Regions from separate parts of the Homo sapiens genome. Here all the other regions are linked to region 3. The links are contacts of gene promoters, found by promoter capture Hi-C in blood cells and fetal thymus (Javierre and others, 2016). All regions are on one chromosome and are shown on one strand. The core of a region is centred on a gene start or on the middle of the fragment in contact, and the rest is flanking DNA. Distances in the headings are between cores, read along the strand shown. Region 1 overlaps FOXP1 (forkhead box P1). Region 2 overlaps FOXP1 (forkhead box P1). Region 3 holds the start of FOXP1 (forkhead box P1). Region 4 overlaps FOXP1 (forkhead box P1).

Region 1 (2,700 bases), core at 7-2,506, 150 kb before region 3:
CTGTGATATGCAGGGATCCCAAGTTCAAGAGGAAAGAAAGAAAAAAAAAAAACAGGAGTCATCCGCATGTTACTTCACTTACAGTAGGGTCCATTCTTTACCATTTATTCTAGAAATTATTTGGTTCCTTATTTAACCTGCTTTGATTTAAAACAACATTGAATTTTAAATTTTCAATCTCAGGGTCTTCTATACTTCAAGCTCCCAGACTTATCCCTAAAAGAGGAAACTACCTGCCCAGATTCTAGGAAAATAAAGAGAGAAAGCATCTCATTCTGCCACGTTGGAAAAGAGGCTTAAACTCTGCCTTATGGTGTCTGTCACCCAAACTCATGGGCTGTTGGGGGAGGGGAGGCGGCGGGGGGCAGGCCCATGTTTCTATGGCAAGAATGGCCACAGGGGAAGGCCTTACAGGTCACTGACTTTAGAGCAACGCAGTAGCCACAACCACCGGGAAATATGGCACCTGTACCAATGGGCCCCTCCAATTTATATGAAACACTTTCCTAGACATTCTACCCCACCACTTTGATTTTACTGCAACAAAGCATTTAGAAGGTGCATGGTGGACAGAACCAGGCAGGGAGGTGAGTGGTGGAAGATGAGCCGGTGGACATGTCCCTTGCGTGCATGCAGCAAGCTCAGGCAATCTAGGGAGGCAGGTCGATCTGCAAATGAGCCATGCAAAGACAGCACAGACAAAAGGAATCCACTCTTGAGGAGTATCACAAATCTCCAATGGGAGCAGAGTTCAGTGGCCGTTCTCTGGTTGGTGGGCAGGAAATCAGGGAAGGCTTCATGGATGAGGAAGCCTTATTCTCCATAGACAGAGTGCGAGAATAAGTGGCAATGTGTGAGAAGATGCTTGCCCAGGAAGTACCTGTGTGGTTTTCTCAGCGACTTAACTTTTCACTCCAGTGAATACTCCTAATAAGAGCTGGCCTGGATGACTCAGTGCTCATACCATGCTAGGCACTTAGCTAAGCTACGAGCTTCAGGCACTCAATTCTTACCATGACTTTTGCCCAATTTACAGATAGAAAACCTGAGGGTCCAAGAGATCTGGTAATTTTCCAGGGTCGCGAACCAAGTAAGTGGCGAAGCAGAGATTCAAACCCTGGTCCATCTGGTCCCACACAGCCCCATTGCCTGGTTTGAATACTTACTACAACTAAACATATTTCCAAAGGTATTTGCTAAAGTTAATAGAAACTTCAGAACTCCTACCTGCAAACTCATTTCACAGGCAACAAAACACACCAAAGACGAATGGAGACTAACTTTTCCAAGTCACCCGATGACCTTGGGTCAAATTCAGAATCCAGGCCTCCTGGCTTTTTCCTGACTTTATTTTTCTTTCCAGGTATTTATTCTGACTTCATTGTGTAGTGTCTATGGAAAACCAAAGCTATAGAGTGATTTTTTTAAAAAGACTAAATTTAAACACCATCATATGTGCAATTCCTGTTGCCGTGTTGCCCCTGGGTGTCATTCTGTGTTGCATCTGAACCATCAGAGAAGCAGAGAGAACCTATGACCAAGCTGCAGGATCCCTTAAGGCTGCTAGTCTTTGAAAACCTATTTATGGCAAGAATTTCTTAAGGGCCAAACAATGTGCCAGGAGCACTCTTTAGAGAAAGCAGACGCTGACATCAGTGTCCTCAAGAACTTCCATTCCCACAGAGCACTAAGCAACTAGGATGGATTGAGATATGCAGAGATCAACCACTGACGACTGTGGTGTGCATAGACTTCTCACGGCTGACCTTGTCGTGGCCGGGAACGGCAGCCCAGCACAGACGCAGAATATTCCCTTTTGCTACTTTCCTGCACCCATCGAGTTGATTTTTCCATCTCCTCCCCGGCCCTGCACAGAGCATTTTCCCCTTCCCCTTCCCTGCCTCACCACCCCTGAACCAGCTTCTGACCTTGCACCCCTCCCTACATTCAAAGCACAATTGACGCACCCCTCCCGGGCCCTGGCCCAATGACCCTCATTCTTCTCTCCCTTTGGACGCTTCCTTTTCCTGTCCCTCCCAGTCTAATAATCTGCTCCTATTCCACCAGGTCCCCTAGGCTACGCCCCACCTAACATAGGGCAGGGCCTGGGCTGGCTCCAGTGTCTCAGTTGTGGCTTCAAAGGGTTTGGGCCTAACACCCTGGGCGCCTGCAGCACCAGAATCCTGGGATCAGATCACCAGCGCTACTCATGATCGCTTCACCCCATCCCCAAGCACCCTATCCCCCCCATCCAAAGAAGCAGAACTCAGCATTTACAGCATTTACATTCATTTTCAGGCTTAAGTGTGGAGCTCCTAAGTCAAGCCTTCAAAGCAGTTCGACACTTAACACTGACAGGAAATGTGAACATGTTAAAAAAAAAAAAAAAAAAAATTAAAAAAAAAAGCCCCATGATTTGGCTGAGGAACTATTCTTTGCAATGTTTCCAAGGATATACCAGAGTCTGAGCTTTAAGACAGACAAAATAATTTGAATGATTCTAATGGTTAGAACACCCTGATCATTTTGTACCTGCTTGGTCTTCTTGGATCTTTTGGTGTTAAAAAAAAAATAGTGACTTGAGTAACTCATTTTGTCCTTTTACCCTCTTCTCAGCGATGGGCAAATTAGTGATGATGGTAGAGTTATTACATGTAACTCTATACATGTTCTTATATGTAACTCATATATGTTAGCATA
Region 2 (2,720 bases), core at 26-2,525, 240 kb before region 3:
GAATTACGGTAAACATCTGCTAACCATGACCACAGAAGAGGTGGTTGTTTTCATCCAAGGTTATTTTAAAGGAATAAATTTAATTAATACAACCACACAGTAATAGTATAGTATCCAACCTTATAATAAGTCTGCTTGCTTCTATCCACAGACCTATTCACTAAGGAAGCACCTAATCGAGAAAGTTTCCTAATGTTGCCTTTATGGCTTCTTGAGGACCACGGATGCGGGGTAAGACTTTTCCATCTCAAGGGATGCTTGAAAACCCAAGCAGACTTCAGTTCTTATCTCATTCCTTAGGCAGTTTTTTTTCCAGAGGGTTCTCTTGCTCTATTAGCAAGACTTTATATAATACACATATTATTTAGGCAACTAAAGCCCCATTAAAAAAAATTAATGAGGCCGAGGCGGGTGGATCATGAGGTCAAGAGATAGAGACTATCCTGGCTAACATGGTGAAACCCGTCTCTACTAAAATTACAAAAATTAGCTGGGCGTGGTGGCACGCACCTGCCTCAGGGAGGCTGAGGCAGGAGAATCACTTGAACCCGGGACATGGAGGTTGCAGTTAGCCAAGATCGCACCACCATTGCACTCCAGCCTGGCAACAGAGCAAGACTCCATCTCAAAAAAATTAATGTTCTAATGGGTTGAAAGCTTTACCTCACATATAAATGTCCCAGACCGCATCTTTCTCTCAAACTGCTCCTTTGAAAGTAACTATAAGAATTAATAGAATCCAGAATGGTTTGGGTTTTAAAAAATTCCTTATTTGGTTCTTTCTTTAAGAAGGAATGGGGTGGTAGGGAAGCTAGTAGGAAGCTGAATTATTCAGGCTGACTGTCATTCAGATCCGTCAAATTACAGCTCAAAACATCACTTTACCTTTGAACAACCAGCCATACCTGCTCCAAAATGAAAGTCACCCATAATTATTATTAAATGTTCCTAATTAAGATAAAATAATCAAATTCATAAAAACCTCCACTTCCATTCTGACTTAAACAAACTTCTGCCTCTACCATCAATATCAGCAGAGCCAGAGCCTTCTAGATTTAGAAAAGCTGGTTTTGCATAAACTACATGCTAGCACTGAATAAAACTGAAGAACTAAGGTTTACTATTTCTGGCCTAGGGTCATGTCAATATCATCAATCAACAAGATACTGAGTTTGCTGAATGTAAAGAACAGAGTCGGCTGGGGGAGGTGGTTCATGCCTGTAATCCCAGCACTTTGGGAAGCCGAGGTGGGTGGATCACCTGAGGTCGGGGGTTCGAGACCAGCCTGACCAACATAGAGAAACCCCGTCTCTACTAAAAATACAAAATTAGCCAGGCGTGGTGACCCATGCCTGTAATTCCAGCTACTCGGAGGGCTGAGGCAAGAGAATCGCTTGAACATGGGAGGCGGAGGTTGCAGTGAGCAGAGATCGTGCCACCGAACTCCGGCTCAGCAACAAGAGCAAAACTCTGTCTCACAAAAAAAAAAAACAGAGTTGTCCCTCATTATACACAGGGATACAGTCCAAGAGCCCCGGTGGATGCCCAAAACCATGATTAGTACTGAACCCTATACATATGATGTGTATTCCTATACATGTACACCTATGAAAAAGTTTAATTTATAAATTAGGCACAGTAAGAGATTAATGATAACAAATAACATAGGACAATTTTAACAATACTGTAATAGAAGTTATGTGAATGTGGTCTCTCTCTCTCTAACTATTTTCTTGTACTGTACTCACTTATTTTCAGACCATCATTGACTGCTGGTAACTGAAATCACAGAAAGTGAAACCATGGATAAGGGGAAACTACTGTATTTTCTCTCTTTGATTTATCTATTTCCCGTAGAACTAGAACACAGCAATTCATAAAGGCCAGACTTCAGTAAGCTTATTGAAAGAATAAATACTAAATTCATGAACTCCATTTATTCCAACAGTTGTAATATCAAACAGGGTCCCAGATGTTGGACCAGGCTAAGAGCAGCTTAGAAGCTTGGAGTGGGAGGCTGTTGGTGTTTCATCTTTTCCACCCACTAGTCTTCAACAAATACCTATTAAACACCTCCCAGGTGCCAGTTGCTGTGTTCAGTGTGTGTGTGTGTGCGTGTGTGTGTGTGTGTGTGTGTGTGTGCGTGCGCGCGCGCACGCATATGCATGTGTGTATAAGTCACACATGCAGGTGTGTATGTGTGTGCACACGCATATGCATGTGTGTATAAGTCACACATGCAGGTGTGTGTGTCGAGCAGAGGAGGGAGTAAAGGGGGAGGTGCTATCATTTGAATGTTATTGATACTAGACAGAATCTTGAGGGGTAATTAACACAGGTTTTAGGATTCACCAAGTCTGGAAAATTACTCTGTGTTTGTCTGTTCACCTTCCACAATGCTAACTGTTATGTGTGCTAAGAAAGTAAAGAAGGTAGGCAGAGATGAACATGGAAGAAGCAAGCAAGTTTTTGATACCCCAACTTCCCTTAAGTGATGATGAACCATTAGACAAGAGACCGGACTACAGAGGCCGCAGTCTATTTAATAACCATCAATGCCTTCAGCTATAAAACAAAGCCAGCCTAATGTAGCCCACTAATTCTGCCCCAACACAGTCAAGTTTCACTTCTATAAGTAACTCCAACATCAGAGGCCACTGTGGTCAGAATTGGAATATAACCATGTGCCACTACACTAAATTATGCTTAAATAAAAATGC
Region 3 (2,736 bases), core at 118-2,617:
CCTCGGCTCCCGGCGCCGCCGCCACCGCCGTGGTCCCCACTCGAAGCGCACGCCGCCTCGGCTCGCTGGCTCCAGGGAGTCGTCTCGGCGGGACAGGAATAGAGCGCAGGGAGCTCGGGAGGAAGGCTGCGCGCAAGCGAGGGACGGAGAGCCATCGGCCGCCAGGACAGGGCCGGAGGGACGAGGCGACACGCGCGCGACGCAGGACAAATCGGAGCTTGGGAAATCTCCCCGTCCCCCAAGCTTCAGAGGGGGGTAAAATCAGAAAATGTGTGTGATGGTGGGAGAGAGATCCGGGCGCGGCGACTCCTCGCAGCGCATCCGGCTCCCGCACCCACCCGTGGATCTGGCCACGGCTGTTGCGGACTCGTCTCGGGAAAGCGGAGGCCGAGCGCGCGTAGGGGTGCGTGTCTGGCTGGGGGTGCGCAGGTGCGTGTTTGAATTTTCCGGGCTCCGAGGGGGTGGCGGGAGAGCTTCCTCGCCGCTGACTCTCGGGGTAACGCGCGCGTGGCAGCGGGGAAGTTCCCCAGTGCGGGGCCCAGGGCCAGGCACCACAGTCAGTTTGCTGGGGCCCGCGGGGCAGCTCAAGGGCACCGAGGGGGCACACACCCGCGGGGAAAGAAGGGGAAAAGTTTGCTCCAAGTCTAAACTTTGGGCCTAGGAGGCGCCCGGCGCGCGCCCCCTCCCGCCGCGGCCAGGACCCGGGACCCCGCACCGGCCCCGCGCCCGGGCGGCCACCGGACGCCAACGCCGGACATCGAAAGTTGCGCCAGGCGGCCTGGGCTTATTGATTTCTCTCCCCTAGGCGATCGTGGAGAGCGCAGAGAGAGGCGTGAAGGGGCCTACGGGCAGGCGATCTCGCCTCCTCACAGTCGCCACCGCCCCCGCCCCCATTTGACTTATGCAAATAAACCCAAAGGGTGCGGGCGCCGCCGGAGCTCCCTCCACCCGCGCGCCGGCCCGCAGCCCCCACCCATCCCAGAGCTGGGCCTCGACCCGGGGGGGAGAGGAAGAGAGGGGAGGGCTGGGGGAGATGCACGTGGAGCCTGGAGGTGGAAAGTAGTTGTTTTTTTTTTTCCATTTTTTTTCTCTTTTTCTTTCTTTCTTTTTTTTTTTTTGTGCTGGTTGTTGTTGTTGTTTAAAGTGGCGGAAACAAGACAGGAGGCGGCTTGGGAAAAAGTGGAGCAGAAATGGAAAAATACAAACTCACCCGCTGCAAATGGTCTCTCGGTGCAAACTAAGGTGTTTTCGGGCCTTTCCCCGCGCGCGCCCACTCCCGCCCGCGCGCGCACCCCGCGCACACACTCACTCGCGCACACACGCGCGCACACACGCACTCCCGGGCGAGGGCCGGGCCGCCGCGAGTACAGCGTGCAACCGCCACACAATAAATAACAATAGATTCCTCCGCTCCGGACTAGCTTCCCGGAGCCCAGCCAGCGCCGGTGGCGGCGGCGGCGGCGGCAGAGGCGCGGGCAGCACCGGCCCGGGGGCGCACCCCGGCCCGACCCTCTACCTCCCGCAGGGGTCCCCTCTCCGCTTCACGCACCCCGCTGGGCACTCCAGCGGCCCCCCGAGCGGGAGCGGCTCCCTCTTTGCCGTTCGCCGGGGCGCTGGCGCCCACCCCCCTCCTCCCTCCCCCCTCCCCCCCGACATCCCGGAACAAATAAATAAATAAGGCGCGCGAGAGAGGCCAACACGTCGCGGAGGGAGATGTTGTTATTTTTTGCTGTTGTGCGTCCCTGACGTCACATCCACCTGCTGGGTAAACAACCGGGCTCCCAGAAAAAAAAAATCGCAATTGCCAAAGAATGGGGGGGGGGGTTGGGGGGAGGGATCCAGGGAGGGGGAAGTGAGGGGCGTCCAGGCAGGATTGGAAAGAGGAGAGGGAGGCAGAGCCCCGCGGACCAGAGAGAGGAAGGGAACGCCAGAGCAGTCCCTGGCAACAGAGGGATCTGGCAGGAAAGACCTGGAAAATAAGGGGCAGGGGGGCGGAGGGGGAGATTCCTCAGGAGATGGGAAATGGGGGGCCCATTCAGACAGCGGAAAAAACGAGAAGGGAGAGTGTTAACTAGGGACGAAGATGGGAATGCGATGGCTATTTGCTTGGATTCTGAGCTAAAAATATGAAAGGGAGGGGAGAGGACAGGCTAGAATGTGAGTTTCCTCCAGTTAAAAGTGAAAGTGTTTTGCCATCAGTGACAGTTGAAGGAGAGCGGGGTGGGAGGTGGTGTTTTCAACCCCCTTTCTCCCTCTCTCCCGTCCTCCCTCGGTCTCTCCTCTTTCTTTCTGCACTTTGTCCAATGAAAGAAGGCGAGTTCGGGAGGTGAAAGTTCAGCAGAAGGACAAACCCCTGTTTGCAAGGAAACAGAAACCCCGCCAGCCAGCGAGGGGTTTTCTCCCCTGTTTCTCGGAATCAGGAGAGTGTGAATGTGGGACGAGCTTCTGCCCCCTTGTCAGAGCCACTGCAGGAATGTGCAATCGAGTCCACTTTGGGGGAAGGTGGCTGCATCAGGAACTGTGTTCTTGCCACGACTCCTCTTAGGAAAACGCCTGGGGGCTAGCATGTCAGTCCGTTGTTTAACACAAATTACCTGCTCTCCCAGTGATCAGTCACGTGCAAAAAGCTTTGTCCAATTCTTTGAAAAGGTGAGATTTTTTTTTTTCTTTTTGCGGTTTTTGAAGTTTGGTTGAATTTAGAAATTCGAAGGAATAAACTAAGAGCCTGAATTAAAT
Region 4 (2,700 bases), core at 64-2,563, 200 kb before region 3:
TCCACTCTCCTGCTTCACATGTGCAAGGAAATCTACAGCTTGACAGTTGCTAGGAATCATCTTAAGACTGCAAATAGGGCCACTCTGAAGATAAGCCAACACCATGAAAAGCAGAGCAGAGAGCTGGATCAAGTCTCTCCTGCAGCCTACCTACTAAGGACTTGCCAGTGACACTCTTTAAGCCTGCCTTTACTGGACTTTCTGTTGAGTACAATCAAACTCATCCTAATTTAAATACTGAAAAACACCAGGATAACATCTTCTAATCCTTTGACGGCATCTTCTAATCCTTGGATGGCATCTTCTAATCCTTTGACGGCATCTCCTGGGGTTTGGGGATCCCAGGCCTTGGGAGCCACTGTTCTGATGAGAAATACATCTTACATATTTAGGTGTGGGTATGAGAACTTGAAAAATAACCAATAAGGGTGCACTTCAAGCTTGGTAGATGTTTTTCAGAGTTTTTGTAACACCAAGTCAGGAACATCACTGTGAAAACTATGAAAGATAACACCATCAGGAAACTGCCTGATGTTCCTCATCTAATTATGAGATACCCATGCTGGCTGACATTATTATGGTAAACTGACATGAGAAGATGGGCCAGCTCCAGGTGGCTCTCTAACAGCAAATGCTTTCCGCTAGCTCTGCATCAAACAGCACCACTTTACCCTTTCTTTGGCATCCTTAATTTCTAGGGGAAGGGGAAGAATTCATTATCAGAGAAGACTCGATTAAAGAATGACATATAAAGTGTCAAACTTTACAAGGAAGACTGCATAACCAATGGCAACAATAAAATGCTGTGAGGCTGAGATTTTGGTTTTGGGCCCTAGGATTTAGGGCAGACATTGTTGGTCTAGTATCAGAAAATAAGTATCAATGAGAAAATGTTGGTATTTAGGGCATGCACTTTGAATCAACCTATTTGATTAAAGGGAAATACATGAAAAGAATAGAGGGTGGCAGGTCCAGTCAAAATAGGTAAAACCTTAATATGTCTTTTTCTATGCAAAGTAGCTTCAGTTTTTGCTACATTTATGGGAGAGAGAGTGGAGGGAGAAAAAGCAGGGGTGTCTGTGCACATGTACTTAACTAAAAAGATCATTTTACTAGTCAGCTCATCCTTGACACATCGCTTGAAACATGGAAGACCAGGCCCCCTTGAACCTGGTTTGGAAGGAAATGGTGAGACAGAAAGAGAAAACTAAATTGCCGTTTTTAAGAAACATGAGTTGGTAACAGAAACCAGAAGAATGAGAGGTGAGAAGATAGATAAAAGAGGGTAAGTCAGGCAATTTGGAGGTCATGATGTATAGAGAAAGCTCTTCAGAGACAACTATGTATGTGCAAACATACAAGGCTGGCGGGCGCGGTGGCTCACGCCTGTAATCCCAGCACTTTGGGAGGCTGAGGTGGGCGGATCACCTGAGGCAGGAGTCCCAGACCAGCCTGGCCAACGTGGTGTAACCCTGCCTCTACTAAAAATACAAAAAAATTAGCCAGGCATGGTGGTGTAAGCCTGTAGTCCCAGTTATGTGGGAGGCTGAGGCAGGAGAATCGCTTGAACCCCCAGAGGTGGAGGTTGCAGTGAGCTGAGATCGCCCGTTGCAATCTGGGCAACAGAGTGGGACTCCGTCTCAGCAAAACAAACAAACAAACAAACAAACAAACCAACAAACAAACAGGCTGTTAAACATCCTTCCAAATTTCTCTGATGCAAACTTCCTCCAACTCCCTAAACTTCCACGGTCTGTGTGAGCTGTGTGGAAGGAAATTGTGGAAAGAAGCTAATTTCTAACTCTGAGAGAAGAGAGAAAAGCAACGGAAACAAGGAATATCAAGAGTTCTCTAACAAAAATCCACCACGAAAACAAAGCCTCCAGAAATGCTCATTGGAATTCCCACAGGGTATAAGATAAAAGTTCAAGCCAATTTTATTAGAATCTCAAAAGTCAAAGTGACCTCAGCTGATAAATGACTTAAAGCATTATGACAAAGCTCTCAGTAATGTGGCCAATTGGAGACTCTCAGAAGAAATGTGAACGACATTCTGAGTTGACACTGGTATGAGGACCTGCAGCATCTTATCACATATATTTTCCTAAAACAATTGTCACCAACTGTAAAGGGTTCAGGTGAATTTCATATCACTGGCAGTCTGAGTGGTGGAGTGGGTGGCAATGAAAGCTTTTTAATTTTAAGGTGTTCCAAATAACTCTAACCATTTAGGAAATGGCCATGTAAGGAATTAAGAAGTAGAAGCTTAAGGCTACTAGCATGGGAAGGCAATTTTTGTCAGGGTGACACATTTTCTAGAACCCTGAAAGGAAATCACTTAGTGGTATCTTGAAAGAAAAAGAAACGGGCACTCTCTCAGCCCTTCAATCAACAACACAAAACAGACTTGAGCAATAATACAGCATTTCTTTGGCTACAGGAAAAACAAAAACAGAACACAACACAACATCAGTGACCCTGAAGTGTGTGCTGTTAACCTTCTTAGTAATTAAGAAGGGGCACGGGAAAAGGAAGTAAAAAAAAAAAAAAATCCTAACTGCAATCCTTCATTGGCAAAAGCAATGCTTCTCATATGCATTTCGGCAGATGAATGGATTTGCAAAGGAGAGACATACCAACCCAAATGAAAAGTTAACACATTTACTGACCACACTGTCAGCCCTTATTTCACAATAGAAT

What was found. Contacts are between HindIII fragments. The CHiCAGO score rates a contact against its expected background, and 5 or more counts as called.
Region 1: a contact is called between a fragment that was not itself captured here and the fragment with the promoter of FOXP1 in region 3, in 1 of 17 cell types (neutrophils). The highest score is 5.1, in neutrophils.
Region 2: a contact is called between a fragment that was not itself captured here and the fragment with the promoter of FOXP1 in region 3, in 1 of 17 cell types (total B cells). The highest score is 6.5, in total B cells.
Region 4: a fragment that was not itself captured here is called in contact with the fragment with the promoter of FOXP1 in region 3 in 1 of 17 cell types (naive B cells); the score reaches 5.1 in naive B cells.

Annotation. Positions count from the first base shown.
Region 1 is chr3:71,430,473-71,433,172 of GRCh38, forward strand. The region is part of intron 3 of FOXP1 (forkhead box P1); the gene reads right to left. Among named protein-coding and RNA genes, the nearest start is that of MIR1284, 110 kb to the right of the region's middle. The HindIII fragment of the contact is 4,303 bases long and covers 1-2,700 here.
Region 2 is chr3:71,346,408-71,349,127 of GRCh38, forward strand. All of the region lies in intron 4 of FOXP1 (forkhead box P1), which reads right to left. LOC124906248 (a long non-coding RNA gene) reads left to right here. Exons shown (of 4, transcript XR_007095957.1): 2 at 152-231. Among named protein-coding and RNA genes, the nearest start is that of FOXP1-AS1, 58 kb to the left of the region's middle. The HindIII fragment of the contact is 1,241 bases long and covers 656-1,896 here.
Region 3 is chr3:71,582,361-71,585,096 of GRCh38, forward strand. FOXP1 (forkhead box P1) reads right to left here and starts at 1,368. Exons shown (of 21, transcript NM_001349338.3): 1 at 1,211-1,368. It overlaps FOXP1-DT (FOXP1 divergent transcript), which reads left to right and starts at 2,583. Exons shown (of 1, transcript NR_182289.1): 1 at 2,583-2,736. RefSeq lists a silencer at 1,241-1,480 and an enhancer at 1,558-1,852. The HindIII fragment of the contact is 2,384 bases long and covers 242-2,625 here.
Region 4 is chr3:71,382,572-71,385,271 of GRCh38, forward strand. All of the region lies in intron 3 of FOXP1 (forkhead box P1), which reads right to left. Among named protein-coding and RNA genes, the nearest start is that of FOXP1-AS1, 94 kb to the left of the region's middle. The HindIII fragment of the contact is 1,750 bases long and covers 439-2,188 here.